Regions from separate parts of the Homo sapiens genome. Here region 1 is linked to region 2. Evidence: promoter capture Hi-C in 16 types of primary human blood cells and fetal thymus (Javierre and others, 2016). All regions are on one chromosome and are shown on one strand. Each heading gives the region's core, a stretch centred on a gene start or on the middle of the fragment in contact. The rest is flanking DNA. Distances are from core to core; before and after follow the strand shown. Region 1 overlaps RNF217-AS1 (RNF217 antisense RNA 1). Region 2 holds the start of SMPDL3A (sphingomyelin phosphodiesterase acid like 3A).

The links. Contacts are between HindIII fragments. The CHiCAGO score rates a contact against its expected background, and 5 or more counts as called.
Region 1: a contact is called between a fragment that was not itself captured here and the fragment with the promoter of SMPDL3A in region 2, in 1 of 17 cell types (M0 macrophages). The highest score is 6.5, in M0 macrophages.

Annotation. Positions count from the first base shown.
Region 1 is chr6:124,954,376-124,959,329 of GRCh38, forward strand. All of the region lies in intron 1 of RNF217-AS1 (RNF217 antisense RNA 1), which reads right to left. Among named protein-coding and RNA genes, the nearest start is that of RNF217, 5.6 kb to the right of the region's middle. RefSeq lists enhancers at 938-1,527, 1,528-2,116. The HindIII fragment of the contact is 6,758 bases long and covers 1-4,954 here.
Region 2 is chr6:122,787,009-122,792,204 of GRCh38, forward strand. It overlaps SMPDL3A (sphingomyelin phosphodiesterase acid like 3A), which reads left to right and starts at 2,250. Exons shown (of 8, transcript NM_006714.5): 1 at 2,250-2,450. The coding sequence starts at 2,339. RefSeq lists enhancers at 2,060-2,561, 2,562-3,061, 4,165-4,334, silencers at 2,276-2,570, 3,676-3,970 and a cis regulatory region at 4,250. The HindIII fragment of the contact is 3,428 bases long and covers 808-4,235 here.

The sequences.
Region 1 (4,954 bases), core at 1,073-3,572, 2.2 Mb after region 2:
AAAATTTAAACAAATTATACTGTTTTGTTTTATTTTTAACTTTATCTCATACAAGTTGGCTATTTGGATTTTTCCTTAGGGGATTTAGGTGGAAAAAGAAAGTGAAATGATTGTATTCCTCTCTTTTCCACCTGATGAACTCTTCCTTTCATGATTCCAAATTCTCTTCCTCCACATATAAGAGGGAAGAAATAGGAAAGGCAGGATGAACATCACACTACAACTTTCAGAAGCAGACGTAGAAAAAATTCCACCACAGACATTGCTTTTCAGGAATTGATTTTTTAAATTAAATTATTTCTATATTTTTATACCTATTTTGATAATTGAGAGATTGGTAGAAAAACAAGTCAGGTATTTGCTGTAATTGTTTCATGGCATTTAAATATTATGTATTTTTTCTCCACAATAGTTTAGAAGAAATTAGTTTTGGCTTTGATATGTAAAACTAAAATGAGTCATAGTTTTTCTGATATAACATAACATTTTTAATGAGTTAATAAATCTCAACTCTTTAACGTCTGGATAAAAAATTTCAGACAGTTCAAAATGGCTAACTAGAGGCACCCAGCACTCATCTCCTCCACAGAGAAGGAGGAAAACAGTAAGTAGATAAACATAGATCGAATACAGCATCGAAGAGAGAACACTGGAATTCAGCAAGGAAGTGACATGGAATATCTGAGGCATGGAAGGAGAGAGAAACAAGGCAGCTGGCCCAGCTGGGACCTGAGAGGAGCCAAAAGAGGCTCCCCAGTGTGGGGAAAGGGTAAGGGAGAGATCCCTAGAAGTAGACTCCTGCAGTCCTGAGAACTGAGAATAGTATAGGGAGCTGCCTGGGGTCCTTGCAACACAACTGTTCCAGATGGGAGCTCTTGCTGGGTCTAACACATTCCCCAGACCCAAGCAGCGTGGTGCTATTTTGAGAGCCCCCACTAGCCTACATCCTGCCCTGGGGCCCAAAAGCCCTGCATCTTCACATTCCTGGAACCCTGCCAATATTGATAATCCCCCATGACAACCCAGAGCGCTGCAACACGGAGACGCTGGCTGAACCTAATGGTGCTGCTGCGTTCCAAGCCCTCTAGCCCATGCAGAGTCTTACACCCCGGGGAACAGGCAGTGCAGCACACTGGGGAGGATGCACCCAGGAAGAAGTAAGGCAAAATGTGCACTCCCCAGAGCCTGAAGAACACCACTGCCACTGACAGCCAGCCCAGTCACCCCAGCAGAAGGGCCACCATGCACATGTATGTGCCTTCAATGGACCTGGTGACTGGTCCAGGCAGATGTCATCCAAGGGCCTGAGGACAGGCCAGTCTTACTCACTGCTGCTATCACCCAAGCACAACAGCTGAAGGCTTGGGGACCAACCCACCCTGCCTGCTGCTTCTGCTATATGAATGCGTTATCAGGGGGCCTAACAGCAGAGCCAGTCTACCTACCACTGGTGCCTATGCAGGCTGTCTGGGACACTGGGGATTGCCCCGCCTCACACACTACAGCCTGTGCACGCGTACACTATTGGGGACCCAAGGACAGGCCTGCCATGCTTGGCATCATGCTTTCCAGTGCTCAGGTGTGCCATCTGCAGTCCTGGAGATTGACCTGCCCTGCCTGAACCATTGGCATATGCACACAACATCAGTAGGTTTGTCATTGCCAGCTGGGCCTAACGACAGACCCAGCCTACCTGCCAATCGTGCCAAAGCATGCTCTCTGGGGGCCTTGGAATTGACGCACCTCATTTGCTGCCACCAGTGTCTATGCATGCTTTCCAGAGGCCTGAGGACAGGCCTGCCCAGCCTGCCAACACCTGTGCAAATAAACTGGGAGCCTGAGAATTGAACAGTCCCACCCACCACAGCCTGCACCCACGTGTAACACCTGGGGCCTGAGGACAGAACAGTCCTGCCTGGTGCGAGGCCTGTCAGTACTTGCACGTGTCATCTGGGGGCCTAGGGATTGATTACACAGTCTGCCATTACTGATGTCTGTGCAATTCTCCTGGGGGCTTGAGGATGGGTCCTCCCAGCCTGCCACTACCACAAAGGCTGCCACCCACCAATGTGCAACCACCAGTAGTGCATGAGGGCCTGAGTATTGGCCTGTCACTGTTACTGTCATTGTCCATACCACACATGCCACCAAGGGGCCTATGGACATGCCCACTTGCTTGACCCACCTCTGCCACTGTTGGAACCTAAGCAAGCTGCCTGGCTGCCTGCCTGGACTTGCAAATACCAGTAACGGTGTATACACCTGGGGGCCCAAGGATGGGCCCAATTGTCCTGCCACCACCATCACCATCAGAGCTCAATAACCTACCCAACTGGTGTCTCCCATCCCAAAATAGCCTCACCATATCCTCCACTAACAATTGCAACCTAAGTCACTGAGGAAAACTCAAAAATACCACTGATGCTGATTACAGCTGAAGAAATCATACAGAAACTACACACACCCAGAATCAAAGCTAAAGTGCCCTACCCAACCAACACCATAGACACATCTATAGGAAAAAGTCTTTCCTTACAAAAGCCAATCCAAAAAATTAAGAAGTGACTGTTACATGACATGTGCACGTATCAATGCAAGGATGCAAGAAACATGAAAAGGCAAGGAAACATGACACCTCCAAAGGAACATAATAATTCTTCAGCAACAGATTCCAACAAAAAAGAAATCAATTGACTGAAAACGAATTCAAAATAATGAAATTAAAGAAGCTCGGTGAGATACAAAAGGACATAGATTTAAAAACACAAACAAATCAGAAAAAACAGTTCATGATCTGAATGAAAAACTCAACAAAGAGATATCATAGAAAAGGACCAACAGAAATCCAAAACTGAATAAGTCAATGAATGAAATAAGAAATACAATGTAGAGCTTCAAAATCCACTAAGTCAAGCAGAAAAAAGAATTTCTGAACTTGAAGATGCCTTTTGTGATAATCCCATCAGACAAAAAACAAAAAAGAATAAAAAAGAACAAAGCCTACATAACATATGAGACAAAGAAGTGACCAAATATTCAAATTTTGGGTGTTCCTGAAGGAGAAGAGATGAGTAAAGGCATCAAAGAAACTCCTAGTTATGATAGATAAATTCAGCAAAGTTATAGGATACAAAACCAACATACACAGATCAGTAGCACTTCTGAACAACAATAATGAAGTAGCTGAGAAAGAAATCAAGAAGATAATCCTGTTTGCAATATTTAAAAATAAATAAATAAATAAAATACCTATGAATACATTTAACCAAGATGATAAAAGATCTCTAGAAAAAAATCTGTGAAACACTGATGAAAGAAACTAAAGAGGACACAAACAAATGGACAGACATCCCATGCTCATGGATAAGGAGAACAAACATCGTTAAAATGACCATATTACCTAAAGCAATCTACAAATTCAATGCAATCTCTATCAAAATACTAACGTTATTTTTCATGGAAATAGAGAAAAAAACATAAAATTCAAATGGAACAGAAAAAGAGCCCAAGTATCCAAAGCAATGCCGAGCAAAAAGAACAAAGCTGAAAGCGTCACACTACCTGACTTCAAATTATATTACAATGCCATAGCAACCAAACCAGCATGGTAGTGTTATAAACACAGACTCTAGACCAATGAAGCAGAATAGAGATCCAGAAATAAGTCTGCATATTTACAGCCAACTGATTTTTCAACAAAGGCACTAAGAATAAACACTGTGGAAAGGACACCCTCTTCAATAAATGGTGCTGAGAAAACTGGAAATCCATATACAGAATAATAAAACTAGATCCCTATCACTCACCATATACAGAATAATAATACTAGATCCCTATGACTCACCATATACAAAAATCAACTCAAAAAGGATTAAATACAAATGTAAATCCTGAAATTATAAAACTACTACAAGAAGCCATAAGGGAAATGCTGTAGGAGATTGGTCTAGGCAATAATTTTATGACTAAGACTGCAAAAACAAAGACAACAAAGGGAAAAATAGACAAATGGGATTAGAGCAAACTAAAACACTTATGCACAGCAAAGGAAACAATCAAGAGAGCAAAGACACAAACTGCAGAATGGGAGGAAATATTTGCAAACTATTCATCCCACAAGGGACTAATACCCAGAATATACAAGGAACTCAAAAAACTCAACAGTATAATATATATAATAATTGCACTAAAAATTGGGCAAAGGACATTAACAGACATTTCTTGTCTGTATAAAAGAAAGTCTGTATAAAAACAGACAGACTCATAGACCAATGAAACAAAATAGAGAATCCAGAAATATTATTAAGTCCACATATTTATGGCCAACTAATTTCCAACAAAGGTGCCAAGAATAAACATTGGGGAAAAGACATTCTCTTCAATAAATGATGCCGAGAAAACTGGAAATCCCTATGCATAAGAATGAAACTAGACACCTATCACTCACACAGTTGATCACAAAAATCAACTCAAAAGACTTTCTTTTATATAGACTTTCTTTCTCAAAAGAAGTCATACAAATGGCTAACAAGTTTATTTAAAAAATGCCCAGCATCATCAATCACCAGAGAAATGCAGATCAAAACCACAATGAGACATCATCTTACCACAGTTAGAATGACTATTATCAAAAAGACAAAAAATAACAAAAGGTGGCCAGGATGCATAGAAGAGGGAAATTTTATACACTCTTGATGGGAACATAAATATGTATAGTCATTATAGAAAATAGTCTGGAAGTTTCTCAAAAAACTAAAAATATAACTACCATATGATCCAGCAATCTCATTACTGGGTATTTATCCAGTAGCAGGAAAGGAAATCAGTAAATCAAAGTGACATCTGCACCCCTATATTTATTATAGCACTATTTACAAGAGGTTGATATGGAATCAACCTAAGTGTCTATCAACAGATGAATGGATAAAGAAAATATGGTATGTATATTCAATAA
Region 2 (5,196 bases), core at 1,000-3,499:
TGAACTGAGAAACTCCAGGGACCATCTTGTCCTCCACTGGAATGCACTTTGGTTCTTGCAAGCTTTTGAATCATCCAAAAGCTGAAGCAGGACTTCGGCTGCCCTGGCAGGACTTGAAACTGTAACACAAAAGTACCTGAGACAGGTCTCAATCAATTTAGGAAGTTTATTTTGCCAAGGTTAAGGATGGGCCAGTGACACAGCCTCAGGAGGTCTTGACATGTGCCCAAGGTGGTCAGGATACAGCTTGCTTTTATACATTTTAGGGAGACATGATACAGCAATCAATACATGTAAGATTTTTACATTGGTTCGATCTAGACGGGCAGGACAACTTGAAGCTGGGCGGGGGGTGGGTGTTTCCAGATCACAGGAAGATTTAAACATGTCCTGATTGGCAATTGGTTGATTGAAAAAGTTATTATCAATAGAAAGGATGTCTGGGTTATGATAAGGGGTTGTTAGACCCAGATTTTGTCACACAGACGAAGCCTCCACGTAGCAGGCTTTAGAGAAAACAGATCTTAAATGTTTCTTATCAGACTTATGGTCTATGTTGATGTTAATTACGCATGTCCAACCCCCCCATCCCCTTTTTCATGGCCTGAACCAGTCTTTCAGGTTAAATTTTAGAGTGCCCTGACTGGGGAAAGAGTCCATACAGATGGTCGTCCATTCAGATGGTTGTGGGGGGCCTTCAAATTTTATTTTTGGTTTACAAAACAGAAAATGGAAGCACCTTGCTTCCCACTTCAAAGCCCGTTTCATGACACACACTCCCATTAAATTACATGGGATACAAAACAAAGCTTTCTATGCTGGGAAAGAAATACACTCTACAACATCTTTTTTGAGGTTAGTAATTATGGAAAGCATTTTCTTCTGCAAAGGAATTCCACGCCCTATAAATTTAAATTATTAGCTTGTCATCTCCAAGAGATCAGCATCCTCATAAACGGTGAGAGAAGGAACACAGAATACAGGATCCAGCACAGTTTCGGGATTCTGGCTTCTTTGCCAGACTTATCTTTGCTTACTTCTTTGTATAGACTTACTTCTTTGCCAGACTTATCTTTGCTTACTTCTTTGTATAGACTTACTTCTTTGCCAGAAGTATATTCAAAAAAGTTCCGTGGAAGCATCAAATCAACCACCTCTACTTATGATTTCCATGCATCTCTGGAATGCATAAAGCATGATTTCAGAACATGTTCTAATTCTAAGACCCTTCTCTTCCCGGCAGTTTAAAAAAAACAAAAAACAAAACGTCGTATCTTTGAGCATTGGTTTTCAAACATCACAATCACTTTAACATGACCTGAAATGCTTGTGAAAACACAAACTGCTGGGCTCCAGCAGGTTTCTGACTCAACAGGTCTAGGGTGGTGCCTGGGAATTTGCATTTCTAACTAGAGTTCCCAGGTGGTGCTAATGTTCCCAGTTCAGAGACTTCAATTCGAGATCCACTGCAGTATCCATAACTTTTGCTGATTTCCTTCAAATCATGATACTTCAGGGCTCTCTGCATCACCTCTACTGAGGAGCCCTACCCATTAAAGCTGGGGTAGGTTGGCCCAAGAATGGAACCGGGATCGTTGAGATTTCAGCACCCCAGCATTTTTTAGTGACTGAAATAATGAAAATTCTGATCAGGCTCCTGCTTGCTTGCACATTTTAACCACTCGCTTTTTGCCCAATATTCTCCTTGTTTCCACAATATAATTATAAACTGCTGAGGTACTGCTTCCTCGTCAAGAACAAAGAGGTTAACTTCAGGGTCACAAAAATGTTTGCAGAAGGGATGAATACCTCCAAGGGCTTTGCAACCAGCTGCGGATGCCTGGACGTCTAATTGCTCAAAGGTGTTATCTGAGACTGAAGAAACAGACTTTTCCCCTGGATTCTTTGAAAATCCCCCTCTCTTATTCTCTAGCAGAATAAAAACTCCCTGCTTTTTCCTTTTTACACACGGATTTGAGAGATCTTGTTCTCCCTCCTTCTGGCTTTTACTAAATTGAATGTCTTTCTCTATCCCCAAGCACCAGTATGTCAGTGTTTGACATCAACTGCACCACTGATACACGAGTCGGAATTTGAGCTTCTACAAGTACATTCCTTCCTAGGCCAAACACTGACGCTAAGAAATACGAGAACAGATCATCGCTAAACAGCAGCTGAAGGTCAGGCGAACTGACTCGCTGCGGAATCTGCCTTTGCACGTGATCAGTCGGACGTCTACACCCGCAGCCGTCTTCTGTCTCCGCCTCACCCTCAGGCCTGACGGTCCGAGTGGAGCTGCGGGACAGCCCGAACCTCCAGGTCAGCCCCGCGGCCCTCCATGGCGCTGGTGCGCGCACTCGTCTGCTGCCTGCTGACTGCCTGGCACTGCCGCTCCGGCCTCGGGCTGCCCGTGGCGCCCGCAGGCGGCAGGAATCCTCCTCCGGCGATAGGTGAGTTGTCCGCGACCCTTCTCTTCCCAGCCGGCAAAGAGCGCGGAGCGGCGGCGCCTGCGCACAGCAGGAGAAAGTGCGTGGGGGCAGCTGCCCCCGGCAGAGGCTCGGGCTAGCGGGGCCCCTGACGCGTCCGGCGTTGACCACGGCTGGTGGGCGCGGGGAGGGCGACCAAGGGACTACAGCGTTAGGGCGTCCAGCCGGGAGGCCGGGGCTGGGCGGGGGAAATGCCCTCGCCGGTGGGGGCGCTCCAAGGGCGCGTCGGCCGGATTTCGCCAGCCTGGCTTTTGTTTACATCCTGCATCTCAGTTGTTTTGTTCCTTGGGGAAGGAAGGAAAAGCTGCGGGACTCAAGGGAAGAGGAAGCTGGGAGTCCGATGTCCAGCACAGCAAGAGGCCCCTAATCGGTCCTGAATGGAGGGGGACTGCAGTTTCCCCACCAGCTCAGGGAAGTAAATTTCAGCGTGACTCACACTATCTTCTGTCTTGCTCGACCGAGATCAGTGGCTTTTTCTGCCACTCACCCAGCCAGAGCGCGAAAGCACCCTCGGGTAGACTCACCCCTTAGTCTACCGTGGAACTCACGGGGACTTCATTTCACCTGGATGTCCACTAGGTTTCCTGCGGGCGGGACCCATTTTATTCACTCCCAGCACTTAACACAGTGCCCGTTACAGTAGTGATTCTCTTAAGTGTGCCCTGGACCGGTGGCAGCAGCCGCCGCACTTAAAATTGTTAGCATTGCAAATTTCCAGCCCATCCCAGACCTACTGAATCTGAAACGCCGGCGTTGGGCTTCCACAGTATGCTGTTTAACCCACCCTCCGCATGATTCCTTTCGGCTAAGTTTGAGACTCACTGGTCCAGAATAGATACATTTTGGTGGGAGATTGTACAATGCCATCCGAGCCTCCAGTTCCAAAAATCAAGGTGCCCTCACCTCCTCAACTCCCTTTAAAAATAATTGCACTGTTAAGAGGAAAAACAAAATTAGAGAAGTGGGGTTCTGTTTTCTTTTAGGGGAGAGTTGTCCCTGAGACTCGGTAGCAGCACCTAGTGCTGAAACCTCTTTCGCTCCCTCTGTGCTTTCTCAGGACTTGGGAGCGCTCTAGGGCAAATATCTTCTCTTTGAAGGCCAAGTCCTCACGACTCAGCTGTCAGGTCTGAAGCAAAAACTGTAAATCTGGTTTCCGAACTGTGGCAAATGTCAGTCATTACAAGAAATTTCCCCAAAATGTTTATGTATACTGGTTTCTGCTTTTATTACGGCTTAGCTTGTGTTCCTTTAATTATGTGACCGGTTAGGGTTTTGAAATAAAATGTCTCACGTTGCTTGAGGCCACACAATGGCAAATTCACCTGTGTTTTAAAGAGGCCTGAATGAGCGCTTTCTGGGGACTCTGTGAGTCTTCACACCTCCTGTTTGGGAAACTGCAAGGTTGAATCCCCTCCTACTAAAGGGGAAGGAAGAGGGGTTACTGGAGTTCAGTGGTCTGAAGTGTTACTGGAGTCACTGGAGTTCGAAAGTCTGAAGTGTTACTGGAGTTCAAAGGTCTGAAGTGTTCACTCAGCAGTTTCACAATTCTCCTTGTTTGTAATATTTTGCGTATTTTCCACTTGATGTGACAACTCTCCTGCCTCCTCTCAGCCCCACATGCTTGGACTTCCTTTCAGCATCCACCCTGCCTGGCTACTGCTTTCTTGTTTTGTGTTTTTGCGTTTAAATTCCCAGTCTTAGTTTTCTGCCCTGTCAAGTCCTGGTGGTCGGACGACAGAAGTTCTAGGAAGCTTCACCTGTGTGTTTTTGGCTACAGTTCTTTAGATTGAGTAGGCTGGGACTGGCTTGTGTATTGGTACTGTTAAAGCAAACTAAATACGGCCTGAGAAGGACTCCTTACTTCTATATTTGAATCCTTGTGAATGAACTGTAACCTAGCTTAATAGTCAGATGAGACTGAAAACCTAACTTAAGAGTATGCACTGGTAACAATAGCTAAGTTTGGCCAATCCCAGCAGCCATACTTCAACCATTCATATACTGCTGAGTGTTCAAACTATGTTCAAATAAGGCATAAGGCGAGCTGAATTATGTCTGAACTATGGTTCATTGGATTCTTGAGAAGTTATAAAATATTTTGGATTAAAAGATTTTCTGGTATAATTTTGAGAGTTTTTCTAGATTTGCTGAACACACACACATATTTTTGGAAGTCTTTTTAAAAATTTATTTTATTATTTTATTTTATTTTTTATTTTGAGACAGTCTCGCCCTGTCACCCAGGCTGGACTGCAGTGGCGCAATCTCGGCTCACTGCAAACTCCGCCTCCCGGGTTCACGCCATTCTCCTGCCTCAGCCTCCCGAGTAGCTGGGACTACAGGCGCCCGCCACCATGCCTGGCTAATTTTTTGTACTTTTAGTAGAGACGGGGTTTCACCGTGTTAGCCAGGATGGTCTCAATTTCCTGACCTCGTGATCTGCCCATCTCAGCCTCCCAAAGTGCTGGGATTACAGGCATGAGCCACCGCGCCCGACTTGGAAATCTTTTTAAAGATAGTCTGCAGAACAGGAAAACGTGCTGTAGTAAACAGAACTTTGGACTTTGAACTAGGAAACATGGATTGGAGTGTGGGCTCTGCCACAGGCCAGGCCTTGGAAACACACATAGGCACACAGTTTCGTTAGGAGAGGGACATGAGGCTTCCAGATGTTCATTATTCATGAGTCCCAGGTTAAGAACCTGTCAGA